7 separate regions of the Homo sapiens genome follow, and all the other regions are linked to region 1. Evidence: promoter capture Hi-C in 16 types of primary human blood cells and fetal thymus (Javierre and others, 2016). All regions are on one chromosome and are shown on one strand. The core of a region is centred on a gene start or on the middle of the fragment in contact, and the rest is flanking DNA. Distances in the headings are between cores, read along the strand shown. Region 1 holds the start of PIN4 (peptidylprolyl cis/trans isomerase, NIMA-interacting 4). Region 2 overlaps JPX (JPX transcript, XIST activator). Region 3 holds the start of LOC105373244 (a long non-coding RNA gene). Region 4 holds the start of CHIC1 (cysteine rich hydrophobic domain 1). Region 5 holds the start of SNX12 (sorting nexin 12). Region 6 holds the start of CXorf65 (chromosome X open reading frame 65). Region 7 holds the start of NAP1L2 (nucleosome assembly protein 1 like 2).

Region 1 (4,188 bases), core at 1,117-3,616:
GCTTAAGGCTGCACCTAGCTCTTTTCAATCCTATATTGTGCCAATTGCATAGTACTAGGTAAATCAGACTGTGAAGATTATGTAGTCTACAAATTCATGGCCTTTGATCTTAGTCAGGCTCCTAGCCCTGAAGGCACTTCTTTTGTGTTTCATTCCCTCTTCCATTACGATATTCCAGACCTTTACCACTCTCCTCAAGATGCCTACTGAGTCCCTGCCCCTCCATCTCCTTTCCTATGACCTCAAGCATAAGGTGTCCCTGCTCCCCCTAGGTCCTGGATTCCATTTTCTCCTAAATCTCACTCTTCTGTACCTTTACCTCTTTTACTTTACTGGATCCTTCAGCTTCACTCCCAAGTTTTCCCCATTCCAAAGAAGCAAAGAAAATAAAACTTTCTCTTAATCCTCTGTCCTTCTCTATCTACCATCCCATTTCCATGCTTTTCAATTAAAACTTTCCAAGAAGTCCAAATTACCACTTCCCAGTCAGTTCTCTAGTCACGGTAATCTGGCTTCTGTTTCACTGAAACCACTTTTACCCAAGGCCACCTCTAATTTCCAAATCTGCTGTTCTTGATAGACTATACCCTCTCTCTTTAAAACATTCTGGTCTCTCCAGCCTCTGGCCACCATTCTGCACTCCCTCTATCTGTCTGCCTCTTTCTCTGCCTGTCCTAGGATCACATCCTCTGCTCTCTGCTCTTTTCATTCTATAAACTCTCCATGGATAATTGCATACACTCTAATGGGCTCAACTACCATCTATAAGTTAGCGACTCCTAAAACTTACATGTACAGTCTAGACCTCTCCCTCAAACTTTAGACTCAAATATCCAACCACTTCCTGACTACATCTCCACTGAGATGTCCCACAGACACCTCAAAGCCAATCTATCTGAAAGTGAATTCATCAATCTCATCCCCGCTCCTCATGTATCCTTGATGTTACCCTGCAGGACCAGCAACAGGTTAGAAATCCAATCCAGAAAACAGAATGATCGTTGATCCTCCCTCACCACCCCTCCCCAACCCAATAAATCACCAAGTCTTGACTATTTCACATCCTAATATTTACAGAATCTTTTCTCTTTTCTCAGTTCCCACAGCCACTCCCTTAGGTCAGTCCACCATCATCTCTCACCAAGACTACCACAACAATCTCCTTACAGGTCTTTCTGATCCTTAACTGTCCTTCTTAGCAGAATATATAGCACTCTCCATGATCTCGTCTTTGTTTCTGTTTTCATTCTCACCACTTGCCATTCTGCCTTGAGTTTTTGCTCCAGCAACACTACGCTGCACACATCATGCTGTTTCTCACCTCAGTGCTTTTGCTGCTGGACCCCAAGTAAGGAATGCTTTAACCTACCCTCAATGCACATCTTGACCTGCCTAATTCATCTCCAGGAAGTCTTCCGTTCCCTGTTCCCCAGCTAAATGAAGGACTTCCCTCAATTTCTATTATATCCCATACACATCCCTCAACACTACATTTAGTACAGTGCTTTATGATCACTAAGCCTTTATCTTCCTCACTACTTCGGGAGCTCCTTAAGGCCAAAATCTCTTTTTTTTTTTTGAGACAGAGGCTCGCTCTGTCGCCCAGGCTGGAGTGCAGTGGCGCGATCTCGGTTCATTGCAACCTCTGCCTCCCGAGTTCAAGCGATTCTCCTGCCTCAGCCTCCCGAGTAGCTGGGATTACGGGCGCGCACCACCACCACGCCTGGCGAATTTTTGTATTTTTAGTAGAGACGGGGTTTCGCCATGTTGGCCAAGCTGGTCTCGAACTCCTGACCTCGTGATCCATCCTCCCTCGGCCTCCCAAAGTGCTGGGATTATAGGCGTGAGCCACCGCGCCCAGCCTTCTGTCTTATTTGTGTATCCTCAGCGCTTAGCACTCTGCCTGACACATTTCTGTTCAATGGATGAATGATTCCTTCCCCGATGGTGGGCATGTCATTCTGTAAGCATTAAAGTGAACTTTAAGGACCATAACCAATGTGTACTTCCTATTGCTGGCTTTTGATAAGACCCAATTTTAGAGCTCTAATAACCCCTTGAAATAGCAGCCCTAAGTCATCGCCTCCGAGGAACTATCCCCATCAGATTCCATTACCCACTAGGACGGTCCCTGAACCGTAGCCCAATGTATTCCTACAGATGTAATCGATGGCAGCACTGTGGGGCCACTGGCTACCTGCTGCGTCCGTCCCGGACTCCGGAGATGGACTGTCTGTTCCCTCCCTTCGCTCCTCACCCGCCCCCATTCTCCTTGATCGCTCTGGCCGCTCTACCTTTCCCCGCTTTTCCAGAACCACTTTTTCCTTTGGGCGGCATCTTGGAAGCTTGTTGTTGAACGCTGAACCGCTCCAGTTGCCGTACAAGCCCCTTTAGAAGCCCCGCCATGGGCATGTCCTAAACAAATGCCTGAAAGCCGCATCTCAATTGACCGTTCTTATTGCGGCTCCGGAAGCAGGCACAGCTTGGGGCAGACCCCGTCCTTTGGCTCTTGGACCAATGGGGCTGAAGATGTCTGACCAATAAGACGCTTGGGCCGAAACAAAGGCAGAGGGGCGGAGACAAAGGCCGGATTAGGGCGGGAAGCCTGGCCTCTGCGCTTTTTGTGACTTCTTTCACGCACCCTAATTTGCACCAGATCCCCCACTCCCCACACTCTACGCCCGAAGCTCCCCCGTTCCCCTCAACCTGGCTTTTTTCACGCGTGCGCAGTAGGAGCCACGGGGGTGGGTGGCTCTGCAGTCCCTCGGCGCCAGCTCTGGCCAATCCCGCGGGGCCGCCAGACAAAGGGAAGCAGGAGTACTGTGGTGGCGGCCAACTTCCGCTGTCTCCTCCTACACACAGGGCTGCCCTCCCTGGCAGTTTTTCGTTTGTTAATTTTATTCTGCAGTTGTAGCTAATTAGGTTCAAAAGGTAGTTTTTAAAAAAGCCTGTCACCTTTTTGCGTCTTGCAGAGCTCAGTCATGGAGAAACATTGGAAGCAGTCTGAGTGCTCCTCAGTCGGGTACTGCTTAAATAATGTTTTAGCCACACAAGAAGATATTATACAACATTCAAAATAACGATTGTAAGGCTGTGTGTACAGATAGGGGAAATGTTTTTAAGACCAAGATAAAGAATATGATTCCTTGTAAAAGAAGTATATGTAATGTATTGTATGTTATATGAATATAAAGGAGAGGAAAGCTATAGAGCAAGATGTGGCCAGTGGTGCTAGTGCATACAGGTCATCGTGTTTGTTTCTGTGTATTTTCCAAAATTTCCATAATGGTGCAGCATAGTGTAGTAAAAGCATGGATTCTGGAGCCAGATTGCCCAGTTTCAAATCCCTGCTCCACATCTGTCTACTAGCTCCATGACCTTGAGGAAGTTACTTCACCTCTCTTTGGCTCAGTTTCATCATCTGTGAAATGGAGTTGATGATAATAGTACCTACTATTATCCTATCAGGTGTTAAGAGAATTAAACAAGTTCATATCTGTAAAGCACATAAAATGATGGCTTGCTCATATTAATAATGTTTGCCTAAGATAAATGATTTTTGAATTTGTGCCCACACACTTTTTCTCCCCTTACAATCCCTCCCACCATCAATAATTTGTATATGATATGTCAGGGCGTTTCCTCCAGTCCATGAGAGAGCTGTCCTAGCTTGCCACTACCAGCCAGAATATAGAGGTCTTCCAGCTCAGAGTTTAGTTTTTGGATGCAGCCTTGCTGGACCTGGAGATGCTTCATGCTCATACCAGGGAATCAGGTGTTTCTGAGACTGTGCTCATTCCCTACTCAAGACATAACATGGAGCCCTCTTATGTTTGGCTGCTTTAAATTCTGGACACATTTTGGGCACTCCTTGTTTTCGGATTGGGAGTGATCAACTGCGGAGGACACATCTAGTGGTGAGGGGATCATTGCTCTGCCACTTCTGAAGTGGATCCCGCACCTGTACTAATTCTCCAAGTTCGGCTGCGAGATGGAGGGGCGGGGGAGTTGGGATTGGGTGTTGACGATGACAGCGTAGCCTTGTGTTCATCAGGTTATCTATGGCCAAGAGGCCCAAGAGGAACATTTACTTTTGATTTTTCTTTCTTTTTTTTTTTTTTTTATTTTTTATTTTTTATTTTTTTTTTTTATTGATCATTCTTGGGTGTTTCTCGCAGAGGGGGATTT
Region 2 (4,188 bases), core at 694-3,193, 1.8 Mb before region 1:
ACTGCTGGAAGTATAGGTGTGAGCCACCATGCCCAGCCCCATATTTTCTTTAAATACATTTTCTTGGCTGTGTGCGGTGGCTAACGACTATAATCCCAGCACTTTGCGAGGCCGAGGAGGGCGGATCACGAGGTCAGGAGTTCCAGACCAGCCTGACCAACATGGTAAAACCCCGTCTCTACTAAAAATACAAAAAAAATTAGCCGGGCATGGTGGCGTGTGCCTGTAATCCCAGCTACTCGGGAGGCTGAGGCAGAAGAATCGCTTGAACCTGGGAGGCGGAGGTCGCAGTGAGCCGAGATCGTGCCACTGCACTCCAGCCTGGGTGAGAATCCGTCTCAAAAAAAAAACCCAAAAAAAAAAATTTTATTTAAATGCATGTAAATACATTCATCAACTGATGAACAAAAGGTGGTACATTCATATATAGATTATTCAATCATAAAAAGGAATTAAGTACAAATTATATGCTACAGTATGGATGAATGTTGAAGATGTTATGCTAAATGAAAGAAGTCAGACACAAGAGATCACATATTACAGTTGACCCCTGAACATGGTTTTGAACTGCGTGGGTCCACTTTTATGTATTTTTTTTCAGTAAAAGTTACACCAGGTATGTCTGCCTCTCCTGCCTCCTCCATCTTTTCCACCTCTACCACTCCCTAGACAGCAAGACCAACCCCTCCTCTTCCTCAGCCTACTCAACATGAAGACAAAAAGGATGAAGACCTTCATGATGATCCACTTACATTTAATGAATCGTAAATATACTCTCTCTTCCTTCTGATTTTTAATAACATTTTCTTCTCTAGCTAATTGCAAGAATATAGTAGATAATAAATTACCATAGAAAGTATGTGTTAATTGACTATGTTATTGGTAAGGCTTCCAGTCAACAGTAGGCTATTAGTTAAGTTTTGGTGGAATTAAAAATTTTATGCAGATTTGACTGTATGAGGGGTTGGTGACCCTAACCCCCCCATTCCTCAAGGGTCTACTATATATGATCCCACTTGTATACAATATTCAGAACAGGCAAATCCATAAACAGAAAGCAAATTAGTAGCCATGGGATAGAGGGCAAAGGGAATGAGTACAGGGTTTCTTTTAGAAGTGATTAAAATCTGTTGGAACTAGACAGCAGTGATGGATGCACAACACTGTGAATGTATGAAATGCCACTAAATTGTATACTTTAAAATGGCTAAAACACTAATGTGTATTGTGCCACAATTAAGTAAAAAAATACTATAAAGTGAAAAGAAAAGTAGCTAACTGAAAAAAATATCTGCAGGCCGGGTGCAGTGGCTCATGCCTGTAATCCCACCACTTTCGGAGGCCAAGGCGGGCGGATCAAAAGGTCAAGAGATCGAGACCATCCTGGCCAACATGGTAAAACCCCATCTCTACTAAAAATACAAAAATTAGCTGGGCATGGTGCCACACGCCTGTAGTCCCAGCTACGCGGGAGGCTGAGGCAGGAGAATCGCTTGAACCTGGGAGGCGGAGGTTGCAGTGAGCCAAGATCGTGCCACTGCACTCCAGCCTGGCGACAGAGCAAGACTCCATCTCAAAAAAAAAAAAAGTCTGCAATATTATAACAAAAAAAGGCGAATTTCCTTAATTTATGAAGAGTGTCTACAATAAGAAAAAGTCCAAACACCAATTTTTTTTTTACAGGACCAAGAATATTAACAAATAGTTCACCCAAAAAAAATACCTTTCAAATGGATAAAAAAAAAAAGTTCAAATATCTTTAACACTGACATTCTCCGTTTCCCCTTCAATTTTCTCACAACTGGCATTCTTATCTCTTTCACTGGATAGGGGAGAGTTTTTAATGCTCAGTTTTAGATCCCCTGGTTTGCTTTCCTGATACTGGAAATGCTGCCATGGTATAGCTGGCAGAGTGAATGGACCAACATTCACAAATTATTTTCCCTATATGTAAACTAATCACTAACGGTACAGTTGGCATGACCCCAACTCGTGTTTTGTGAAGTTCAACAAGCCAATTTCATAAAACAAACAAAAGAAGGGGTTATAGGGAACTGCTCTAAATTTTAAAAGGCTCAAAAGACATAAAAATCAAATGCAATGTGTGGTCTCCGAATAGATCCTGGTTTGAAGAAAGCAGCTATAAAAGACATCCTGCGGACAACTGGGAAAATCTGAATATGCACTGGGTGTTAAACATTAAGGAATGGCCGGGCGCGGTGGCTCACGCCTGTAATCCCAGCACTTTGGGAGGCCGAGGCAGACGGATCACCTGAGATTAGGAGTTCCAGACCAGCCTGGCTAACATGGTGAAACCCCATCTCTACCAAAAATACAAAAATTAGCCGGGCATGGTGGCAGGCCCCTGTAATCCCAGCTACTCGGGAGGCTGAGGCAGGAGAATCACTTGAACCCGGGAGGTCGAGGTTGCAGTGAGCCGAGATCACACCATTGCACTCCAGCCTGGGTGACAAGAGCAAGACTTCATCTCAAAAACAAAAAAAAAATTACGGAATTACTGTTAATCCTACTATGTATAGTGATGGCATTGTGACTATATAGAAAAAGGTCCTTGTTTATTATATGTTTATATTGACTTATTTAGAAGAAAATGTCATGATAACTGTAATTTACTTTACAGTATTTTGGGGGAAAAGGCAAGTAAGGCAAAATCATAACGGTTGCTAAATCTAAGTGATCCATATATGGAAATTCATTTATGTTATTCTCTCTACTTTCATGTGAATGTCTAAAATTTTTCCCAACAGATAATAAATCACTAACCTATTAATTCATTTCTCACCAACTAAACATGCACCCCATTAAGCAAATAATTATTCTAGAAAGAACATTTGTGAATATACAATATAGAAATTAATATTATTCATTATTTTGAAACATCCTTTAAGGAGCTTTTATACTTTTTTTTTTTTTTGAGACGAAGTCTTGCTCTTGTCACCAGGATTGTAGGCACAAGGCAGCATTTATACTTTCTTAGGTTATGTTTCAGAAAACATGCTTCCCGGCCGGGCGCGGTGGCTCAAGCCTGTAATCCCAGCACTTTGGGAGGCCGAGGCGGGCAGATCACGAGGTCAGGAGGTCGAGACCATCCTGGCTAACACGGTAAAACCCCGTCTCTACTAAAAATACAAAAAAATTAGCTGGGCATGGTGGCAGGCGCCTGTAGTCCCAGCTACTTGGGAGGCTGAGGCAGGAGAATGGCGTGAACCTGGGAGGCGGAGCTTACAGTGAACCAAGATCGTGCCACTGCACTCCAGCCTGGGCGACAGAGCGAGACTCCATCTCAAAAAAAAAAAAGAAAAGAAAAGAAAATACGCTTCCCGATTATCTTTGAGTTATGCATTTCGACCAGTATGCTACTTCACATAATTATTTACTTATTAGCACCCTTTAAATGTCCACTCTGTTCTGGTTCTGCTGCTTCACTTTCCCTAACCCCCAATCAGCCCATATCAATCTCTTCATTGCTAAAACAGTACAACATCAACAGCACTGGAACACAGTATCTAGCTACGTAAGAAAACTTACATTTACCCTGCTGCAAAATATGGAGAGGAATCCATAAGAGCTAAGTTTCTTTTCTGTCCAGTGTGTATGGCATTAACTAATCACCATTTTCCTTTTTTCTTTTAAGTTAATGTGTCAAACATAGAAATAACCTGAAGTACTATGAATTATTTTTAAAAAGTTATGTTGATAATTATTTTACCTGGAAAGTATTAGTTTGCTTTTAAATGTTATTCAAAGATATACTCCACAAGTATAATTTTATTATACCTCAAGAATATTTTATAAGAACTCATCTTAATTTTATAATTATTAACCTCTTAAATCTGTGTAAGACATTCTATTTAATGCAACTCCTTATAAAAATCATATCCCACAAATTATCTTTAACGACAAAAATCTAAGTCTAGCTTGTCAAGTTTTTCTCTGTAACATATTCTCTTAACAATTTGTATCCTTGATTACTAATAGTCAGTTCCTGCAAATGAACCAATCAATAATCAATTAAAAAAACCTAAAAAAATTAAATGATGTCCAACATTGTTCTCATAAAAATATATACAAAATTAACATACCAGTCGTCAATGCAATTTCAAACAAACAATGCAAAATTGGTAAAATGTTTTAGTCTTTATGTAGATTTCATCAAGTGTTTTGCCT
Region 3 (4,188 bases), core at 1,380-3,879, 1.7 Mb after region 1:
CTCGACTGAATGGAGAGGGTCAAACTACCCTCCTCAGGCCCCTTCCTTACCCCCTTTTTTGCCCTATCCCCTTTAACAGGTTCCTTCCTCCCTTCCTCCCACCCTCTCTCTCTTCATTTTTAATGATTGTGAGCAAAATCCCTTCAGACTCATAGTGGGCTTCTCCTCATTCCATAGGCTCCCTGCCGCTCAGACCGGACTGGGTTGACAAGGCTGGGAGGAGGTCAGCCACACTGAGACACTGTGACACTTAACTAGGGAACCTCCCTCCCAACTGCTAGGGCTCCAGCCTGAGACCCCAGGGAGACAGTCGCCCCCTACGGACCAAAAGCGCCCCACACCGCTGCAAGCAGCTCTGGTTGCTAGGCAACCAGGCGATGGAGGACTTCAGGAACGGATTTTCAAGCAGAGAGACCATTTATCTCCCCTTCCACCGCCACTCCGGCTCCTTCAGCAAGTAGACGGGGTTGGGACCGCGCGGTCTGCTGCTGTCTGTCTGATAAGCTGGGCTCATTCTTGAAAATAGAGCTTCACTGAGTGACCTCCATATTGTGCGTGGTGAAACGATCACTCTTGCCCCAAATGTGGTTTCATCTGGGGGCTGGAGACTCGGGTCGATGAAGGTGGAAGTTTCTGATTTGCAAGGAGGGGAGGAGCATTGTTGTGGGTGTGCACCCTTAGTCAATGGGAATTCTAGAAAATTGAGCTTGCGTGGGAATAATTTTGATCAGTCCATCAAGATTTCCTCACGATTCCCAATGTATACATTAGGAAACTCTTACGTTAGCCCATTAAAATAAAAAGGTCAATGGGAATGACAATATATAAAGGATCATTCATACCTCATTGGGGACAAGCAGTGGCTTTCATGAATACGGTTTCTCTCCAGACAAGGGAGAGATCATGAGGTCTGTAAATCCCTGTGAGTTGGGACAGAGCTCAACAAAATGGAAAGAAATAAAAAGAATGGCGGGGTTGGGGGTGTGATAAGCACAGAATCTGGCAGCTTCTGAGCTCTGTGTCTGGTTTGGGGATCCCCAGCTCTGTGCCCCCTGTGTTAGGACCATGCTGAAGCACTCCATCCTTATGAAGGCTGTGGGGGACCAGAAATCCATAGCTTTTCCTTCTAGTAACCTAGCATTCTGGCCCAGGAGTGGGTCCAGGCAGGCCAAGGCCATGACCAAAACAATCTTTCCACTTGGGACGCATCTCTGCCTTCTCGGCTAGTACAACAGAAGCTTGATTGTGGCAGAGCCCCAAGCCATGGCGAGCTTAGGGGAGAGCTGTGCCCAGGAGTCTCCTCGTGGGGTTTCCCTCAAGAGTTCCAAGGTAGAGATACCAGGGTGAGGTAACTAGCATCCAGACAGCATCTGGCCCAGCCACTGCTCAGTCCACATCTCCACAGGGCATAGTGGCAGGGGACGCTTCTTGCTCTCTGTGTTTCCAAACTGAACTGGGTCGGGGCTGTGCTCCTGCTCTATTAATAGCCCCCTAGCCCAGCCTGCTAGCCCCAAACCCGGATGCCAGGAGCTGTGAGTCAGCAGCTAAAAATAACGAAGAGCAACTACATCCGAACCCCAATGAGCAGCTCCCCCGGGTCCTCCGCCCTTAAGTTTTTGTCAGTGTCAGTCTCCAGCCCAGGGCCCAGGGCCTATAGGTTAAACCGCTTTAGCTGTCCAGTTCTCCTGGGAAGAGAGTGAGGATTTCCGGTGGCAGGCTCAAGGCTGCGTACCCAAGGCTAGGGGCTAGGAGAAAGGGGTCAGAGGCTGGCGCTGGGTTGGGGGGCCAGACGCTGGGTTTAGAGGGCCGCAGCTGAGAGTGTGAGAGCTGAGAGGTTGGGGCTGCAGGGATGGAGTTGCTGGAGGTCTTCAGGGTGAGGTTGGGAGGTGAGGGGAGGAAGAGACTGGGCGATTGGGAAGGGACAGAAAAGTAGGGATGGGGGAGGAGGTACGTGCTGAGAGGTGACAGCCCGGCAGTACCGGGCAGACTGGGGGCCCTAGAGCTAAGGCTGGTAGCCAGCCTGAAAGAGAGGGGATGGATCGGGAACCAGGAAAAGTAAGGAAATGCTGCTCGAAAAGGCAGAGTGTAGGAGAGACCTGCCCGGTACACAGCGGCGTGGACTCCCAGGAAGACCAGGACCAGGACCGGATTGCGGCGTTCGCTCTCCGCGCGCCTCCAGCCTCCCCGTGCGTCGCATGCTGGCACCCCCGCCCACCGCGCCAGCTGCAGGTCAGGTACGTGGGCGCGGCCGGCCTCCGGAGCCGGAGTGTGCAGGGATGCGCACGGAGAGGGCGGGGCGGCCAGAAAGGAAAGGGGTGGGCCCGGGAGAAGGGGGCGGGAACACGGATTCAAACTCGCCTGCGTCCAGCCAGATACCGGAAATGGCCGGGGACTCACTGGGAATTGTAGTTCCCGCGGCTGCCCGGCAACCGAGGGTGGGGGGCGGGTCTTGTCCCGAGGATGCCAGTGCTGCCCCAGGTCCCAGTCTGGCGAGAGAGGAGGAACCGAGAACCCGACCTCCCTACCTGGCCGACTCCTTAGTTCTACTTCCCTCCGTGTGGAGATACGAACTAGGTCGAATGTGGGTGTGGCGGAAGACTGTGGGGTCACCACAGAGCCCCTCTTGTCCCCATTTTTGGCTTAGCCCCTCCCTTCTTCTACTAGACTCTTCATCCTCCGTCAGCTCCGCACTGGCCACCTTAGCTGCGGAGCCCAGGGACTCCCGAGCCGCAAACACATTGGGGAACTTGCTCCTCCAAGGGAAGGCTGGGCCGGAAATTGGACCCTGCGCGCAGCCCAGAGGAGCGAAAACTTGTGGAAATCGGACCTTGCCCTCGGAGTCCTGAGTCAAGGACACGAGTCCCCAAGCGGCACGGAAAACAGGTGGCATTCAGCAAATACGTCACGGCGACGACGGATGCGGCCCTCCTCTTGGGGCGGCCACAAGGTGGAGCTACAGTGCAACCCTGCACCGCGCGCCCGGCCTCCGGACGCCCCCGAGGTGGCTGCTCTCCTGCGGGCCTCCCGCGAGCCTCCCGCGAGTCCTTCATTGCCGCAGGTGATTCTCCTCCCACCTCCAACCCACCTCCTCCCATCTCCCCCTGATGGCCCCTCAAGGTCGTGTCCCATCCAACCGTAGATGGAAGGTGCCTCCTTTCCCCAGCCCCTGGGCCGAAAAGATTAGGCTGTGACCAAATGGAGATTACATTCGTTGAGTAACAGATTAAGACAAGATACAGGAACCAACCTGCCTTGAAGAAAAGGCTGCGCACAGCAAAAAGCCACCTGTAAGCACAGAATTACACGGCTAGACGGGCTCTTCAGCTCCTAGCCTCTAGGCAGGAAAACAGCTAAGCTGCAAGGGTCGAGGAAGACAGTACATCGTGGAGTGGCGATGGTGTCTCTATCATCTTACAGTTCTCCGGAAAAGACCATTTCGTTATCTCCTTCAGTCCCTCTTCCAAGCTATCCCACCCCGACACACCCTGTGCCTTCTATGCAAGAACACGTGCACACAAGTCTGAGACATTATCCGAGCAATCTCCCTTTTACTTCCTCTGTTCTAGTTTCATTTGAGGAGAAACTTCTCATTACTCACTCTCTTCCCAAACATCTCAGGTCAAAACCCCAAAGGGAGCAGATTCCATAGCAGCTTAGGGAATGCCCATCACCTGGGCAGAGGGCCCTCATGGTTCAAAACCTCCTGTTGGCAAAGCTCCCCCCACTTGCAACCCACCACCCCTGAAGCATTCCACTTAAGCCACTCTCCAACCCTTGCTGTTTGGGCAATGTAGACTGGCTTGGGTGGGGAAGCAGGGCAGGGCATTCACTCCATCATGAAATTGTTGATCCTTGTCAGCAGCACTGCTGTTTCTAAGCCTGGGGAGGAGGGGGAGGGTGGGTCATCTAGGGAGTTAAGCAAGGGGAAAGCTACAGGAGGAGAAACATGAGGTGAGGGGAGAAAGTTCTTACCAGTTTTCCCTCTCTTCTTAACAAATCTTCTGTGGGGAGAAAAGCTTCCCATTATGAGTTCAGCTAGCTTCAAGCAGGCCCTTCCAGCCCCCACACCTGCTCCCCCCAACTGCCTTTCCTACATTCAAGCCAATTTGATAGTATAAGGAAGGGCCTAAGAATCTCAAAGGAACTAAAGAGACCCCAAGCCTTGGGCAGCATATGTGAGTCTGAAGC
Region 4 (4,188 bases), core at 590-3,089, 1.4 Mb before region 1:
TCCCCCAACACTTCCCCAATTTCAAAATATTTGTTAATATATTTGATGCAAAGATTACGAAAGTATATTACAATTAAAATACTCAACATATCACGCCTGTAGTCCCAGCTACTCAGGAGGCTGAGGCAGGAGAATTGCTTGAACCTGGGAGGCAGAGGCTGCAGTGAGCCAAGATTGCGCCACTGCACTCCAGCCTGGGCAAAAGAGTGAGACTCTGTCTCAAAAAAAAAAAAAAAAAAAAAAACTCAACATGTTAAAAATTGAAGCTAATATAAGGGAGGTAGCATATATATGATTTAATGTAACATGAACTCAATTGAAAGTCAAAGGGACTAGGTGAGCCATTATCAAAACCAGAGGCAGCATGACATAACAACAAAAGGCAACCTATTTTGAAAATGCAGTAAAAGATAGCATAGTTCAGAGGATGAACATGACACAGTACTCAAACTTCCAAATAGTTATGGTCCAAGCAAATAAAAATGAGGAAGCACTCTTTAAATCCCGGAGAATCATCAACATTTTTGCCTTGTAGCTGTTATGAAGTCCCTCCCCATTTTATTTTCTGAAATATTCAATTTTTCCTCAAGATTTCAATTTTTTAAAAAACCACCCTGGATAAATTTTAAAGAAATTATGCTCAGCTCCCAAAGTATTAATTTCCATATATATTTAATGCCTGTATATTTCATACTTGGGCATACAAAATCCCTTGGAGGTAAATTATCTCAGAACTGAAAAGCTTTAGAAACCATCTACTCCAAACCCTTCATTTTAGAGATGAAGAAATCAAGGCGCAGAAATGAGAAAAAGCAACCTGACCAAGGTCACAGGGCCAGTAAGAAGCAAAACCGGGACCAGCGTCTAAGAGCCCTGACTCAATCCATTTCTTTTTCTACTTTCCATAGCTGCCTCTCATCCTGAACCTCTAATCGAGTGATATATAAGGAAGGATTCGATAGGAAGAATGGATGGATGAATACGTGGGTGAATGAACATTCTATTATTATTCACAAAATATATCATGTTTCTGTTTTGAAGAATGCAAGCCTAGTTCTTGTCACATGTCACAGCAATTGCTGTTTCCCACAAAGTATCAATCTTGTCAGCAAAAAACCCTCTGGTACATCCTGCAGTTTAGAGACTGTTCACTTGCCAGCATACATACAAGAAAGGAGACTCACCCCTACTCCAATCGCTCTGGCTCCCAAACCCCTAACTTCCCTCTCCTATACTCACTCTTTACCTGGCATTGGTGCATCATATTTACATTCTCCTCACTTCCTTCACACGTATCCACCCATGGTTTCCCCATTTAGACCAGGTGTCCTTTCCTAAGTGTACGCCTCAGTCAATCAGTCAACCCTCCCCCACTCCACAGGCCCCTCGATCACTTCTCATTCCTCTGTTGCCAAATCTCAGGCATTTCAAGTCCCAAGACCCCCTCTCGCTTACACAGTGATGTGGCCGGCACCCCGCACTAATACAGGGTCGGGAGCATATCTCCGCAGATGCTCCTCGCTCACTACCCGAGGCGGGGGCGGCGCTTCCTCCTCCTCTTCCTCCTCCTCCTCTTCTTCCTCCTCCTCCTCTTCCTCCTCTTCCTCCTCATCCTCCTCGTCATCGTCGGGCCCAGATACCGACGACGACGACGACGGCGACGACGACGACGTTGCCGCTTCTTCTTCCTCCTCCTCCTCCAGTTCCGAGATGGTGTCGAACTCCGCCATGTTGGGCAGCAGGATGCTCATCACGTGACCTCGCGATCGCCGCCACGCTCCCGGAGAAGAGTTTGAACCTGCCGAGGTGCTGCAAGAGGAGGGGGAACGAAATGAAGAGAAAGAGGAGGGGTGTAGGGACAGGATTTGAGGAGACGCGCCTGCGTGTTGGGCAGACGGGGGGGTGGGGGGGCGGCTGCTGGAGGCGGGGGCACTAGAGAGGAGCAAAGTCAGTGTACGCTTGCGCAGCTCCAAGGGGAGGGGGCCGCTAGAGGTGAACTCCAAGGAGTTATCCAGGTCCGGTCTGCGGGTGCTCGCCTTAATACTGCTCTCTGAGCGTCAGCTACTTGTATTCGGGGTATCTTCTGATTTTATTGCTTATTAATTAATGCTGGGCATTATTAACCCAACTGCAGGCGGGTGAGAGAAAGCATATTGTATAAAAGTAAGGTTAGAACTTTGTCCAAAATATCTCAAGGTATATACCAATCCCTTACGTTTGTTCAGCATTACAGTTTAAAAGCCTTGCGTCATAACTTTGCCACAATCTTGGGAGGCAGGGTAAGCACTTTTATTAGCATTTTACTTAAGAGGAAACTTTTTACTACTTCTCCTATGTAATACTTAACGGAGGACTTATTAACTCAGGGACTGTGCTAAGTGCTCTGTATGTATATCTCATTTAATCCTCTGCAACCCTATGAGGTATGTATCATGATGATTTTATATTACAGATGGGAAATCTAGGTGCAGAGAAAATAAGTAATTTGTCCAGTGTCAGGGAGCTACTAAATGGGAGACCTGGTTTTAAATTTGGTGGTCTCTTCTGATTCCAGAAGCCCAGTACTCTTAACCAAAGGGCTGTACTGCCTGAAGTTGTTTGGAAAGATTTTGTAGAATGGTGCCTCTTGGGCTCTTCCTTAAAAGATGAATCAGAATATGCATGTTTGAATTTTGGAGTGTTTTTTGGGGGAGGGGGCGGATGGAGGGGGTGAAAGGAGCATTCCAACCTAAGGAAACCTTAATTAACATCATCCATTTTCCAGACACTGAGCTAGACCCTCACATACAATATTTCAGTTAACCCTTAATCCTGAGAGGTAAGTATCATTATATCTATTTTATTACATGACAAAAGTGGGTCTCAGAAGTTTAAGTAATTTATTCAAGTCTATGGTGACCTTTTGTTCAAAATTTTCCATTTTAAATGGTCTATCCTATCTTCTTTACACTCACTAAAATGTTGTGGGGATCACATATTTTGCGTATCTAAATAGTGTGCCAAACTGTTTCATACTTGGCAGCAGCACAAAAATCCATATCATTAAGACAGTAAAGTCACACAGCTGCTAAGTAACAGAACAAACACTGTAATCCAGGCATTCTAATACCAGCTTCACTGCTCTTTCTGCTACTCTACGGCTGCATCCCAATCAGATGGTGTGTCTCTGGGGAAACAGACATAGTCAAACTTTAATTTAGGATGAGCACGACATTATCAGTATAAACAAAGCATTTAATGTGTGTGAAGTAGGAAGAAATTAGTTCTGTAAGAGAAATGAATCAAACCATTATCATCAAGGAGTATGTGTTATTAAAATGAAAAGCCCATTTTTATTCAAAAGTTGGTTTATTTAGGGAACTTTAAAAATAAGTCGGAGATCGAGACCATCCTGGCTAACAAGGTGAAACCCCGTCTCTACTAAAAATACAAAAAAAATTAGCCGGGCGCGGTGGCGGGCGCCTGTAGTCCCAGCTACTCGGGAGGCTGAGGCAGGAGAATGGCGTGAACCCGGGAAGCGGAGCTTGCAGTGAGCCGAGATTGCGCCACTGCAGTCCGCAGTCCCGCCTGGGCGACAGAGCGAGACTCCGTCTCAAAAAAAAAAAAAAAAAAGTCATAACATTATCAATAAGCAACAAATTATAACTTTTTGTAGTTTAGATAACTGTATCTACTAGCCAGGAATTATAGAAGATAGAACCTTAAAATATTTTGTATAGCCTTCTGGCAAGACATATATATCTTTGCTTTTTTGGGGTGTTAATAAATGTGTCAGAGTTAAGATCAAAATTAATACTTTGCAACAGTTCTTCTCTTTCAAGAGGCAAAAAAAAAAAACTGTAAATGACATTTAAAATTTTTCCAAATATCTTATCCACGAAGGTCCACTAAGTCTGTGTCTAGAGGGAAAAGTATTTCACTGACTACTGCTTAAATGGTAGTTTCTCCTCACACTCAAGATTAGGCTAGGAAAGGCTATTTGAAGTACAGGAAGGGAAAGGAGTAGGGGGTGGACTTTGTAATGAGTGCAAGTAAGATATTGGAACTATGGTAAAAGTGGAGAAATTATGGCCTTGAAGAATGAGAAGGAAGGAAAGGGATGGGGAAAATCTGTTAAAATAGAAAGAGGCCCCTCATGTTTAGTCAGATGTCAAAAAGACCAAACATTCAGGGAAGTGCTATACTTGG
Region 5 (4,188 bases), core at 1,197-3,696, 1.1 Mb after region 1:
CCCAGAAAGATTGTACCGATTCACATTCCTACCAAAACTGCATGCCCTCACCAACTTTCAAATCTTCTGTCCTTGCCTCTTCATGTTTTTCTTTCTACATGGTATGCTGATGACTCTCATATCTCTATCTCTCTAACCCTGACCTCGCCCTCGAGCTCCAGGCCAGTATTTCCAGCTACTCGCTGGACATCTCCACCTGGATGTTCTACAGACACCCCATATTTATCTAAACTGAACTCATTTTTTACAGATGAGGAAAACTGTTTGTATAATTTGCTCATGGTTATACAGCTAGAAAGCAAGGATTTAAACCCAGGCAGCCTAAGTTCATGGGTCACACATTTAAGCCCTACACTATACTACCACCATATCTAATCACGTACAAGTCGTATCTATTTTATTTCTTCAATCTCTTTCCTATCTCTTCCCTCCTCTCCATTGTCACCATCACCACTTGATTCGGAGTCTTATTGTCAATACCTTCATAATTCAACTTAAATATACCTTCCATGTTGTCTACAAAACAATTCTTCTAAAACATAAATCTGATCATGTATTTTTCCTGCTTAGGATCCTTCAGGGACTCCCTATCACCTACCAGAAAGCTTTGTATCACCTATCATGAAGTCAGAGATCCTTTACTTAATATAAGCGGATCATCCTTTGTCTGCCCATCCCTAGCCAGTCTACCTTTCTAAACACTTCCATCACACAGTCTGAATTGGCGATAAATGCCTAAAAATGCTCCACTGTTTCTTATCGCAAGGACTTTGTGTATTCTTTCTTTCTTTCGCTCTCTCTCTCTCTCTCTTTTCTTTTCCTTTTCTTTCTTTCTTTTTTTGATGGAGTCTTGCTCTGTTGCCCAGGATGGAGTGCAGTGGCATGATCTCAGCTCACTGCAACCTCTGCCTCCCGGGTTCAAGCGATTCTCCTGCCTCAGCCTCCTGAGTAGCTGGGATTACAGGCGTGTGCCACCATGCCCAGCTAATTTTTGTATTTTTAATAGAGACAGGGTTTCACCATGTTGGCCAGGCTGATCTCGAACTCTTGACCTCAAGTGATCTGCCTGCCTCGGCCTCCCAAAGTGCTGGGATTACAGGTGTGAGCCACCGCGCCCGGCCTGCATATGCTGTTTCTTATTCCAGAAATTACCTTTCCCTATTTCCACTCCTATTTGTCCTTTATGTCTTTTCATGTCTGTTAAACTCAGATGTTTCCTCCTCCAGGGGAACCTCCCCTAATTTTTCCAGTTATACATTTCCTATGTGCTGCTTTGAACATTTACTTATTTTGTATTTGTCGCATTATATTAGTTTTGTTTACTTGTCTCCCTTGCTAGAATGTTAACTCCTTGAGGGCAGGGACTCTTATTTAACTCCAGGATTTTAGTGTTTAGCATGGTGCTTGGCACGTATTTGCTTAGTGGATATTGGTTAAATTGAATTAAACAGCAATTGTGAAATTGTAGGGCCTCATACTCTGTTGAAAGAATTTCAGGCATCAGTGATATGGGAAATATTTTTTGAGTAGAGGAGGGCAGGGGAAAGGTGGAGAAAGGATGACCTGAAATCATCACCCAGTCTACCCTTTAATGTGGAGCATATGTAAATTAGTCATATAAATATTAATATTTCTATAGATATTCTCATGTAAACATTTATTCTATCTCCATTATGGGTTGCAAGCAACCTCAGAGCAGTGCCAAGTATGGAGTTCTGCGGAGTAGAAATAGAAGGTATGAAATAAGTACCCTCAATTTGCTGATAAATGTAAGATTGAGTACACCTGGAGTGTGGCAACAAGGAGTAAGATATGCCCAATTTTCCTGAAAAGTAAGAGAGAAATGTCTTTCTTTACCCCATCCTAGTTGCTTGCTGCTTTCCTGGCGCCATACGTAGTGCTGAGTGCGCCATTGTGTGTGGCGTGAACTGAAACCATCAGTGGCACAGGTGGGACGGCTACGTTATAGGTTCTCAGTACTATTGTTGGAACCCCACCCTCCATAGACCACCCTTCTATTTTCGCGGAAAACCAGGACTTATTCAGGTCACTGGGCTTCGGCCTATCACTGTAGGAGCCTGGCTCACGGGGCAGTGCCCACTGTTGATTGATACACGGTACGAGACAATTTCTTGGGTTGAGGAGCCGCGATTGGCGGAGCCAGCCTGTGCTGCTAGGCAGGGTATTGGGTACTGCGTATTGGGGATGCAGGTTCCCGGGTGGCCACAAACATCACCCGGAAGCCTGAATATGGCCTCCACTCTACAGGGCGCGCAGCAGTCAGCACGGCCGCTATTCAGAGCCCGGGGCCCAGGCCCGTGCGGCGTGCGCGTGCGTGCGTGGGCGCGCGTGCGCGCCGCCGCCGCCTGTGGGTTGGCTAGTTATTTTGCAAGCGGGAGGGGCCGTGCGCGCTCCTGCCTCAGGCCTCTGTCCCCCACCCCCTTTCCCCGGTCCCAGGCTCTCCTTCGGAAAGATGTCGGACACGGCAGTAGCTGATACCCGGCGCCTTAACTCGAAGCCGCAGGACCTGACCGACGCTTACGGGCCGCCAAGTAACTTCCTGGAGATCGACATCTTTAATCCTCAGACGGTGGGCGTGGGACGCGCGCGCTTCACCACCTATGAGGTTCGCATGCGGGTGAGTCACGGGGTGAGGGAGACAGCTGAGGGAGGACCGGGCGGCGCGAGCGGGAGGGGGGAGGGAGGCTACCGCGGGGGCAACTAACGGCGGGGAAGACGCCTTAGGGGTCATTTGGGGGTTAGGGGTATAATAGGCTTGGAACGAGGTCTGCCGATTCAGTTGTGGCCGGAGGATGCAGAAAACTCCTGAGGGAGACATCGGACGGGGATGCAGGAAAGCTACCCATGAGGAAGTGAAGCATGGCTGGATAGGGTGGGGTGGATGGAAAAAGATTAGAGTGAGGAATTCAAGGAGATAGGAATCACGGCTGTAGCGACTGAAGGAAGGGAGGGAGGATGGAAGAGGGCTGGGGGATGGAAAGCCAAGGCGATATATCGCTGAGCTCCATAACTAAACTAGGTTGTGAGAAGTCTGAAGAGGGAGGGCAGGAAGGCCGGCTGCTTTCTAATGAGGTCTCCCTGGGATAATGGAGTAAAGCAAAGCCTTGAATTAAAGGGAAGGTAGATTCCAGAAAAGGCAGACAGTAGGCTTGTGGGAGCAGAAATAAGAAAGGGAGTCTCCTTGAGACCGAGCGCTTTCCTAACTTGTGTCGGATCAGCATCTGAAGGAGAGAAATGTTTTATGCTTAAGTTTTCGCAGATACTACGTGCTGTCTCGCCTTGAAACCTGGCCTGGCCCTGGGATTGGTGCCTTGTCAGTCACTGCTTTCATTCTATGTGGATCCTTTAGATTTGAAGTATCCAGAATGTTTATTTCAGTATTTATTGACTCTCGTTTAGGTACTTTGTATATGAATGGCTTTTTGCCCTTTCTGTCCTAGATTACCCTTTTGGATTCTGACCCTGGTCTGTAGTTACTTTAATACATGACATTTCAGAATTGCCCAGGAGTGGCTTCTTCCAGCATGCATGATAGAGGACTTTACTCTCTAGTGCTTAGCCCATAATGCAAGGATGGAATGTGCAGATAGAGTACTTGGTTTGCAGGATCTTTTGCCCACTTGAAGTGGTTATAGGCAAAACAGTTTGAGAATCATTTTCTAGTTTTCCTTATGTTTTCTTCTCAGACTAAAAGGCCAGAATATTCTCTGTGGACAGCATCCTGCTCAAACAGCATTGAAGAACTAAAAGAGTGTATGTGCTTTCATTGTTGAAGGAGTGAATTGAATGAGAAATTGTGGTCTCCTACTTGGGCTTTGAAATCTTATTGAGAAATTATGATTTCCAGATTCCAAGTTTGGCAAAGTCCAAACTGAAGAAAGAAAAGTGAATAGCAAAACATGAGAAACACTTGTCTATATAAGAACTATGTGAAATCATGTCTTTGGGGGAGAATGGAATTTAGGTCCTTCAGAATATGATAAAAGCAGGAAATTGTCAGTGCTGGAGAACTTAGTTACCTGAGGGAGCTTGGGCATGACTAGTACAGCATAAGGGCTGTCTGCTGTGGGGTTTTGGAGACATTCAATGCATTACCCAAGAGTCTTAGGGATTCTGAATGAAATCGCTCTTTACTCAGGGTATTCTTTTTTTTTTTTTTTTTTTTTT
Region 6 (3,792 bases), core at 78-2,577, 1.1 Mb after region 1:
TGGTATTGGGGGCCCAGGAGCCTGTGTATCCCTTCTGTAATCAATTACAGTGGTTGCAGACATCATGAGTACTCCTTTGGCACAGAGCTCGGTCTTTTACTTCCTGCCCCTAATTGACCCCTGACCTGGACATATCTGTCTTTAGGCCTGGAGTGGTGTGTCTAAGGGACTGGCTGAGAGTCTGCAGCCAGACTACAGTGAACGACTCTGCCTCGTCAGTGAGATTCCCCCAAAAGGAGGGGCCCTTGGGGAGGGGCCTGGGGCCTCCCCATGCAACCAGCATAGCCCCTACTGGGCCCCCCCATGTTACACCCTAAAGCCTGAAACCTGAACCCCAATCCTCTGACAGAAGAACCCCAGGGTCCTGTAGCCCTAAGTGGTACTAACTTTCCTTCATTCAACCCACCTGCGTCTCATACTCACCTCACCCCACTGTGGCTGATTTGGAATTTTGTGCCCCCATGTAAGCACCCCTTCATTTGGCATTCCCCACTTGAGAATTACCCTTTTGCCCCGAACATGTTTTTCTTCTCCCTCAGTCTGGCCCTTCCTTTTCGCAGGATTCTTCCTCCCTCCCTCTTTCCCTCCCTTCCTCTTTCCATCTACCCTCCGATTGTTCCTGAACCGATGAGAAATAAAGTTTCTGTTGATAATCATCAAAAATGTCTGTCATGGGGGTGGGGAGCAGGGGAAGCCTGGGATGCAATGAGGGTGGGAGGGGAAGAAAAAGGAGTAGTACATTCATGCTGTGGAGGCAGGAGTATTACCAATTTGCTAGAAAGAGTACTGTTCTGGAAACTGACTTTTTTCCAGGTGCCCTGCACTCATTCCAGGGTTTAGTTTAGAGTTAGACTTACAATGGGCTGGGCGTGGTGGCTCACGCCTGTAATCCCAGCACTTTGGGAGGCCAAAGCGGGTGGATCACGAGGTCAGGAGATCGAGACCAGCCTGGCCAACATGGTGAAACCCCGTCTCTACTAAAAATACAAAAATTAGCCAGGCGTGATGGTGTGCTCCTGTAATTCCAGCTACTTGGGAGGCTGAGGCAGGAGAATCGCTTGAACCCAGGAGGTAGAGGATGCAGTGAGCCAAGATTGTGCCACTGCACTCCAGCCTGGGCGACAGAGGGAGACTCCATCTAAAAAAATAAAAAAAATAAAAAAAGTTAGACTTACCATGTTGTCCCCCCTTTCCAACTAATCTTTAACATACCCCACCCAAGTTTTTCTCTCCTTACCCTTACTCCACTTTTTGGCCACACCTGCCACTTCTGACCTCATAATCCCTTAACTGCAGTCTCAGGCCCCACCCCTGGGGATACTGGTTATCCACAACTATCAACAGCTCTCTCCTGCCTGTCCAGCCTGGGCATCCTCAGCCTATGAAATCCATCTGCCTCTCTAGTCCACCAACCCTATAGGCCTATTTGCCCCACACAAGGCCTCTAGAACACCCTCCTTCTGCATGACTCATCAGGGCACTTTGTGAAGAGTGAGGCGATCTTGAGGGCATGTTCATCTTCATCAAACATGGAGGTGAGGGGCAGCACAGAACTAGAGTCTGTGGATGGGGGTGGAGGGATCTGAGGGCAGTGGAGATCACAGAAATGGGCCCATGTGTCCCATCCTATCTCTTCTCAGATAATCAGCAGTTTCTGGTCAATACCAACTGTGCTGTCGTCGTGTTGCTGTATTACATCCGCAGTAAAGTAAAGTTGCCTAAAACAAGTGAGGAGCTTAGGGAGGGGACTAATGGCCAAAGGTCAGAAGGAGTTGGGTCATCTCTAACCCCCAAGCCCTCCTCCTGGCAAGAAGGGAGTTCCTCATATCCTTAGAGCTTCCTCCAACCCATTTTGTATAGGATCACTGGCCCCTTTTGCTCCCACTCTCTTTCCTTAGCTGCCCCAATTACCCTGTGATCTCCCTCCAGACACCATCGATTTGTGTGAACAAACGGGGAAAATGAAGATGCTTTTCCTGATGAAGCCCAATCATGCAGAGTATGCCAGCAAATACCTTACAGCTCGAAGCACCTACTACGTTTGTAAGGTGGAACGTGGGCCACCAGGTAGAGGCTCAGGAGTGTTCCCCAGAAATAGAATAAGGCCTTCAAGATAGATTATGAACCTTATCTTTAAAACAAGGCATCCAAGGCTGGGCATAGTGGCTCATGCTTGTAATCTCAGCACTTTGAGAGGCCAAGGCGGGAGAATCGATAGAGGGCAGGAGTTTGAGACCAGCCTGGGCAACATAACAAGAGCCTGCCTCCAAAACCAAAACCAAAACCAAAAACAACCAAAACCAAATTAAAACAAAAAACAGAACACCCTCAAACAACAGAACACCCTCAACCAGATCCAAATTGACCATCTCTAGTCAGCCTAAGGAAGGGTACTGCCTCTATAATAATAGGTTACCTCACACATACTCTCCCCTAGGTCCATACCTAAGGGGAAGAAATATCCACCAGCTCAAGGTAGGTTTTTTTTTTTTTTTTTTTGGGACAGAGTTTCGCTCTTGTTGTCCAGTTGTCCAGGCTGGAGTGCAATGGCGCGATCTCAGCTCACTGCAACCTCTGCCTCCCAGGTTCAAGCGATTCTCCTGTCTTAGCCTCCTGAGTAGCTGGGACTACAGGCACCCGCCACCAGGCCCAACTAATTTTTTAGTGCAGATGGGGTTTCACCATGTTGGCCAAGCTGGTCTTGAACTCCTGACCTCAGGTGATCCACCCACCTCAGCCTCCCAAAGTGCTGGGATTACAGGCGTGAGCCACTGTGCCCGGCAAGGTAGTCTTTATTTTTATTTATTTATTTATTTTATTTTTTGTGATGGAGTCTTGCTCTGTCACCCAGGCTGAAACAGTGGCATGATCTTGGCTCACTGCAACCTCTGCCTCCTGGGTTCAAGTGATTCTCCTGCCTCAGCCTCCGGAGTAGCTGGGATTACAGGCGCCCACCACCATGCCCAGCTAATTTTTTTTGTTTGTTTGTATTTTTGGTAGAGATGGGGTTTCACCAAATTGGCCAGGCTAGTCTCGAATTGGCCAGGCTAGTCTGGAACTCCTGACCTCAAGTGATCCGCCCACCTTGGCCTCCCAAAATGCTGGGATTACAGGCGTGAGCCACCGCATCTGGCGGGTAGTCTTTAGTGTTAGGTCCTGGAATCTTGGACTTCTGAAGGGTGGAGACTGGATGACAGGGGCTGGAGATAGCACATGGCTATGTTCACAGGAACCAGGCTGGAGAATGCTTACAGAGCTTTTGTGCCTCTCCTCAAGAATCCGGAGCCTTGGCTGCTTGGTAAGAAGTGAGATGGGGGAGGGAAGAACATGAAGGGTACAGTATATAGCTGTGTGATGGAGAATGTAGGGTGGGACTAGCGTGATATGGTAGGTCAGATGATAGGAGCCTAGGAAAAGGCGGGCAGGGTCCAGGTCCACTTTAGGAGGGACGTTTAGCTCACACCAGGTGGAATGTGCATGCGTTACTCCCCACTTCCCCCATTTCTTGGCCATCTTCTCCGTATATCTCCCTGTCACCATTCCATCATTTCCATCTTAGGCCAAGTGGGGCTCCAGCTGATGGTTTGAACAATGAATGGGAGCATCAGGAAGGGTAAGGTCTCTAGTTCTCAGAGGTGCAGGTGCCTTTTCCTTGTTCTTAGTTGCACTGCGCATACAATGTGATGCCCTGGAGAGGAGACGAATTCAGATGCTTAAAATGAAAGAAGCCAAGAAGGTCGTTATAATTGAACCCCCTGCGAGTGTCCCGGTAAGACTTGCCAAATGTGATCT
Region 7 (4,188 bases), core at 938-3,437, 1.0 Mb before region 1:
TCTGTGAATTTGACTGCTCTAGATACCTAATTAAAGTAGAATCATACAATATTTGTTCTTTTGTATCTGGTATTTTCACTTAAAGGAAAAATTTATCTATAAACTGACAGAATTTAGAAATAAATACAACAATATGTAAACAGTTTTAATATCTGTGATAGTAACAAATTCTTTAAATCTGGAAAATAATAGTCACTTAAAATTTTAAAAAATTGTTCAATTAATAAATGATCCAAGTTAGAAATATGAACAAAATAAACCTCACCAATAATTACTATAGAGAGGAAATTTTAATTACTGCAAAGCTTTCCATCCTATAAATACATTATCAAATAGTTTAACCATTTCTTTAATGCTGAGATTTAGATTATTTCCAATTAACTCAAAAGCATCAAGCAAATGTTATGATTTCTAAGAATAAACATAACTTTCCATTTTGGCTTTTGTATATATGTATATTTCTAACGGCTGTTAAAGCCAGCATTAAGAAGGAGAAGCAGAAAGTCAGTATTGGGACTGGGGTTATTTATAAGCCAGGCAACTGGTTAATTGTGGTTAATTGTCTGGTATGTTTACTAGTCACGTAGTTGTATACACCATACTAGTTTTTCATCACAGGCCCTCATTCGCCCCCACTGCCATCGGACTTCCTCCTCCTCCCCTCACAGGAAATGTTTCGAGAATTTTTCAACCTAAAATCATATAGCTTGTGAAAAATACCGACAAACATAATATAGAATATTTAAATAACTGACACGCCACCTAAAGACCATCAGTGCTAATTCCTGGTGTTTTTAATCTTTGAAGCGTTTGTTTATCAGCTCTTCCACCATCCACCTCTCCCCTCCCCAGGTCCCCGATCTAAAATCAAAGAGATTGATTTAGGATGGGTGGGTGCCTTGTCTTCTCTCATTGTTCGACATTTTAGTTACGTTTTCTCTGAGCTCTCTGGAAAGCATAAAAGTATAATATCTGTTAAAAGTTGGATGAATGAACTAATGAACGCAATGGGATTCCAGAAAACTCTGCGGGAGATGGGCTAGAGGACGAGGAGGAGGTGGATGAATCAGCCATGTTAGAGAGCCTGGGAAGGTGAGCAGAGTTGAAAACTTGATAGATCTAATAATTTACTGGCTCTGGGTTTGTCAGTCACTACATTGCAGCAAATGAGATTAGAGCATAGTTGTGGGAGGGAAGGAGGTGACGCAGCAATCTATTTGCACCTAGAAATTTTAGGCAAGTGATAGCTGCGTAATCATACTGCGGCACCGTTTTTTTCTTGCAGCAGTAGCTGCTTGCGGAGGAGGTCTGCCCACTGCAGCTCTCTGCAGTCTCCGGCTCTCTCCTGCAGGATCGGTCAACGCAGCCGTCGCCGCCCTCTGCACCCAGCCCAGGTCGCCACTGCTTCAGTCCGGTTCTCAAAGCCTCAGCACCATCTTTTATCCCCGAGCAGCCTGGATCGTCGTTCCCTCAGTCCGGACGCCACTGCTAGGTCCGACCACCGCCGCTTCTGATATTTCGGTGAGTCTTTTCCTGTGGAGGTTTGGTCTCCCGATCTCTGTGGTAGCCACCTTAGGCGTGTACGGTCCTTTGAAAAATGGCCGAGTCAGAGAACCGCAAGGAGCTGTCAGAATCCAGTCAAGAAGAGGCTGGTAATCAGATAATGGTGGAAGGGCTCGGGGAACATCTGGAGCGCGGTGAAGATGCCGCTGCTGGGCTTGGAGACGATGGGAAGTGCGGTGAAGAAGCTGCCGCTGGGCTTGGGGAAGAAGGGGAAAACGGTGAAGATACTGCTGCTGGGTCCGGGGAAGATGGGAAAAAAGGTGGCGATACTGATGAGGACTCAGAGGCAGACCGTCCAAAAGGACTTATCGGTTATGTTTTAGATACAGACTTTGTTGAAAGTCTACCTGTGAAAGTTAAGTACCGTGTGTTAGCCCTTAAAAAGCTTCAAACTAGAGCGGCCAATTTAGAATCCAAATTCCTGAGGGAATTTCATGACATTGAAAGAAAGTTTGCTGAAATGTACCAACCCTTACTGGAAAAAAGACGTCAGATCATCAATGCAATCTATGAACCTACAGAAGAGGAATGTGAATATAAATCAGACTCTGAGGACTGTGATGATGAGGAAATGTGTCATGAAGAGATGTATGGTAATGAGGAGGGTATGGTACATGAATATGTGGATGAGGACGATGGTTATGAGGACTATTATTATGATTATGCTGTGGAAGAGGAGGAGGAGGAGGAGGAGGAGGACGACATTGAGGCTACTGGAGAAGAGAATAAAGAAGAGGAGGATCCTAAGGGAATTCCTGATTTTTGGCTAACTGTTTTAAAAAACGTTGATACACTCACTCCTTTGATTAAGAAATATGATGAGCCTATTCTGAAGCTCCTGACAGATATTAAAGTTAAGCTTTCAGATCCTGGCGAGCCCCTCAGTTTCACACTAGAATTTCACTTCAAACCCAATGAATATTTCAAAAATGAGTTGTTGACAAAGACCTATGTGCTGAAGTCAAAGCTAGCATATTATGATCCCCATCCCTATAGGGGAACTGCGATTGAGTATTCCACAGGCTGTGAGATAGATTGGAATGAAGGAAAGAATGTCACTTTGAAAACCATCAAGAAGAAACAGAAACATCGGATCTGGGGAACAATCCGAACTGTAACTGAAGATTTTCCCAAGGATTCATTTTTCAATTTTTTCTCTCCTCATGGAATCACCTCAAATGGAAGGGATGGAAATGATGATTTTTTACTTGGTCACAATTTACGTACTTACATAATTCCAAGATCAGTATTATTTTTCTCAGGTGATGCACTGGAATCTCAGCAGGAGGGGGTAGTTAGAGAAGTTAATGATGCAATTTATGACAAAATTATTTATGATAATTGGATGGCTGCAATTGAGGAAGTTAAAGCTTGTTGCAAAAACCTTGAGGCATTAGTAGAAGACATTGATCGTTAGAGCAGAGTATACATGGCCCTGAAATTAACTGCCCTAGATATAGTTACTCAAGGTATAAGAAGCCTTGTGTTCTGTATTTTTCTTGTAGTGTTAGTTAAAACATATGTTTCAAAAATATAAGAAAAGTTCAAAAACTAATTAATTTGACCTTGAGTTTTAGTAGTAGAATGTTTTCAAGAAATGTACACTGTGGTAAATGATTTAAAACACTAGTATAGTGTTGTGTAGCTTAATCCTTCTGAAGTCTTTTTGTCATGTAGCTATTAATCTGTGGCTATGAAATGATCAGAAATGCTAAGTGAGATCAATATTTGTTTGGAAAAAAAATCTTGGGAAACAACCCAAGGGTTTTCGCTGTTGTTGTTTTTCTTTTTCTATTTTTGTTTACTTAGTCCTTTAGCTAGTGGATTTAATTTTGTTGTGCCTGCTTCATTTTGCAATAACAATGCAGTAGAATTTAAAACTTGGATGCTTAAGAGGCCTGCATATAGATAAGAATTTCAGGCAAAACTACATTTATTGTTAATAACAGCTTGTTCATAGGCTCTTGTATTTTATGTAACTGTGATAAATAATGAAACTTAGTTATATTGAGGTTATTGTTTGTCGGTGAAGTGTTAGTCACAGTATTTTCAAAAGTTTGCACATATTGTTCTGTGTAATTGTGTAAGCCATAATTACAGTGTTTAATTCTCTTTTCCTATTACATCATTCATTGAAAGTGATCACTTTACCATTTTGAAAAGATATTTCGTGTTCTTTCACTGCAAAATAAAAAGAATAAAAATTTCAGAGTGTCTCATGTTTAAAACTTAATGTATTTCTTGTTATAAAAGTAATATGTTCATTGGGGGACATTTGGGCAATACTGAAAAAATTCATTAATTAAACACAAAATCCATATACCACCCACCTACCCCAAAATAAGCACTGTTAATGTTTTGATTTATTTTCTACAATTATATTTCTATATGTTTATACACGCATGCAGATTTACTAAGACTATACTAAAATGTGCAAAGAAAGTATACCTTTCTTAGTGTTTATAATTGATCTGTTCATAATCTCAAGTCTACTTTCACTACACAAGGTTGCAGGGAAACAAAATTCTCAATTCTAATCAATCCAGTAATCTCAGTGCTATTTAATAATTTAAGCACCCTTTTGAAATAACAGGTTCCTGTGTGTTAGTTTGTATTTCATATTTC

The links. Contacts are between HindIII fragments. The CHiCAGO score rates a contact against its expected background, and 5 or more counts as called.
Region 2: a fragment that was not itself captured here is called in contact with the fragment with the promoter of PIN4 in region 1 in 2 of 17 cell types (total B cells and monocytes); the score reaches 7.5 in total B cells.
Region 3: a fragment that was not itself captured here is called in contact with the fragment with the promoter of PIN4 in region 1 in 2 of 17 cell types (fetal thymus and total B cells); the score reaches 6.9 in fetal thymus.
Region 4: a contact is called between the fragment with the promoter of CHIC1 here and the fragment with the promoter of PIN4 in region 1, in 4 of 17 cell types (fetal thymus, total B cells, naive CD8 T cells and 1 more). The highest score is 12.5, in fetal thymus.
Region 5: the fragment with the promoter of SNX12 here is called in contact with the fragment with the promoter of PIN4 in region 1 in 2 of 17 cell types (non-activated CD4 T cells and total CD8 T cells); the score reaches 5.6 in non-activated CD4 T cells.
Region 6: a contact is called between the fragment with the promoter of CXorf65 here and the fragment with the promoter of PIN4 in region 1, in 1 of 17 cell types (total CD8 T cells). The highest score is 5.4, in total CD8 T cells.
Region 7: a contact is called between a fragment that was not itself captured here and the fragment with the promoter of PIN4 in region 1, in 1 of 17 cell types (naive CD8 T cells). The highest score is 6.6, in naive CD8 T cells.

What each region holds. Positions count from the first base shown.
Region 1 is chrX:72,179,935-72,184,122 of GRCh38, reverse strand. It overlaps PIN4 (peptidylprolyl cis/trans isomerase, NIMA-interacting 4), which reads right to left and starts at 2,366. Exons shown (of 4, transcript NM_006223.4): 1 at 2,295-2,366. The coding sequence starts at 2,337. RefSeq lists an enhancer at 2,107-2,326. The HindIII fragment of the contact is 4,711 bases long and covers 2,348-4,188 here.
Region 2 is chrX:73,947,290-73,951,477 of GRCh38, reverse strand. All of the region lies in intron 2 of JPX (JPX transcript, XIST activator), which reads right to left. Among named protein-coding and RNA genes, the nearest start is that of JPX, 5.1 kb to the right of the region's middle. The HindIII fragment of the contact is 9,783 bases long and covers 1-4,188 here.
Region 3 is chrX:70,432,725-70,436,912 of GRCh38, reverse strand. It overlaps GDPD2 (glycerophosphodiester phosphodiesterase domain containing 2), which reads right to left. Exons shown (of 16, transcript NM_017711.4): 15 at 3,973-4,001; 16 at 3,532-3,879. The coding sequence ends at 3,827. It overlaps LOC105373244 (a long non-coding RNA gene), which reads left to right and starts at 1,620. Exons shown (of 3, transcript NR_171576.1): 1 at 1,620-2,234; 2 at 2,665-3,058. RefSeq lists enhancers at 1,014-1,514, 1,502-1,581, 1,602-1,701, 2,562-2,671 and a silencer at 2,162-2,411. The HindIII fragment of the contact is 2,778 bases long and covers 1,241-4,018 here.
Region 4 is chrX:73,560,848-73,565,035 of GRCh38, reverse strand. CHIC1 (cysteine rich hydrophobic domain 1) reads right to left here and starts at 1,839. Exons shown (of 6, transcript NM_001039840.4): 1 at 1,456-1,839. The coding sequence starts at 1,751. It also overlaps the pseudogene MAP2K4P1. RefSeq lists a silencer at 1,860-1,919. The HindIII fragment of the contact is 6,151 bases long and covers 745-4,188 here.
Region 5 is chrX:71,066,592-71,070,779 of GRCh38, reverse strand. SNX12 (sorting nexin 12) reads left to right here and starts at 2,446. Exons shown (of 4, transcript NM_013346.4): 1 at 2,446-2,638. The coding sequence starts at 2,474. RefSeq lists silencers at 2,231-2,450, 2,290-2,483. The HindIII fragment of the contact is 9,631 bases long and covers 608-4,188 here.
Region 6 is chrX:71,104,275-71,108,066 of GRCh38, reverse strand. It overlaps CXorf65 (chromosome X open reading frame 65), which reads left to right and starts at 1,327. Exons shown (of 6, transcript NM_001025265.3): 1 at 1,327-1,535; 2 at 1,641-1,727; 3 at 1,930-2,067; 4 at 3,230-3,298; 5 at 3,663-3,769. The coding sequence starts at 1,511. It overlaps IL2RG (interleukin 2 receptor subunit gamma), which reads left to right. Exons shown (of 8, transcript NM_000206.3): 8 at 146-663. The coding sequence ends at 331. The HindIII fragment of the contact is 6,290 bases long and covers 1-3,792 here.
Region 7 is chrX:73,211,902-73,216,089 of GRCh38, reverse strand. NAP1L2 (nucleosome assembly protein 1 like 2) reads left to right here and starts at 1,239. Exons shown (of 1, transcript NM_021963.4): 1 at 1,239-3,791. The coding sequence starts at 1,598. The coding sequence ends at 2,980. The HindIII fragment of the contact is 474 bases long and covers 1,951-2,424 here.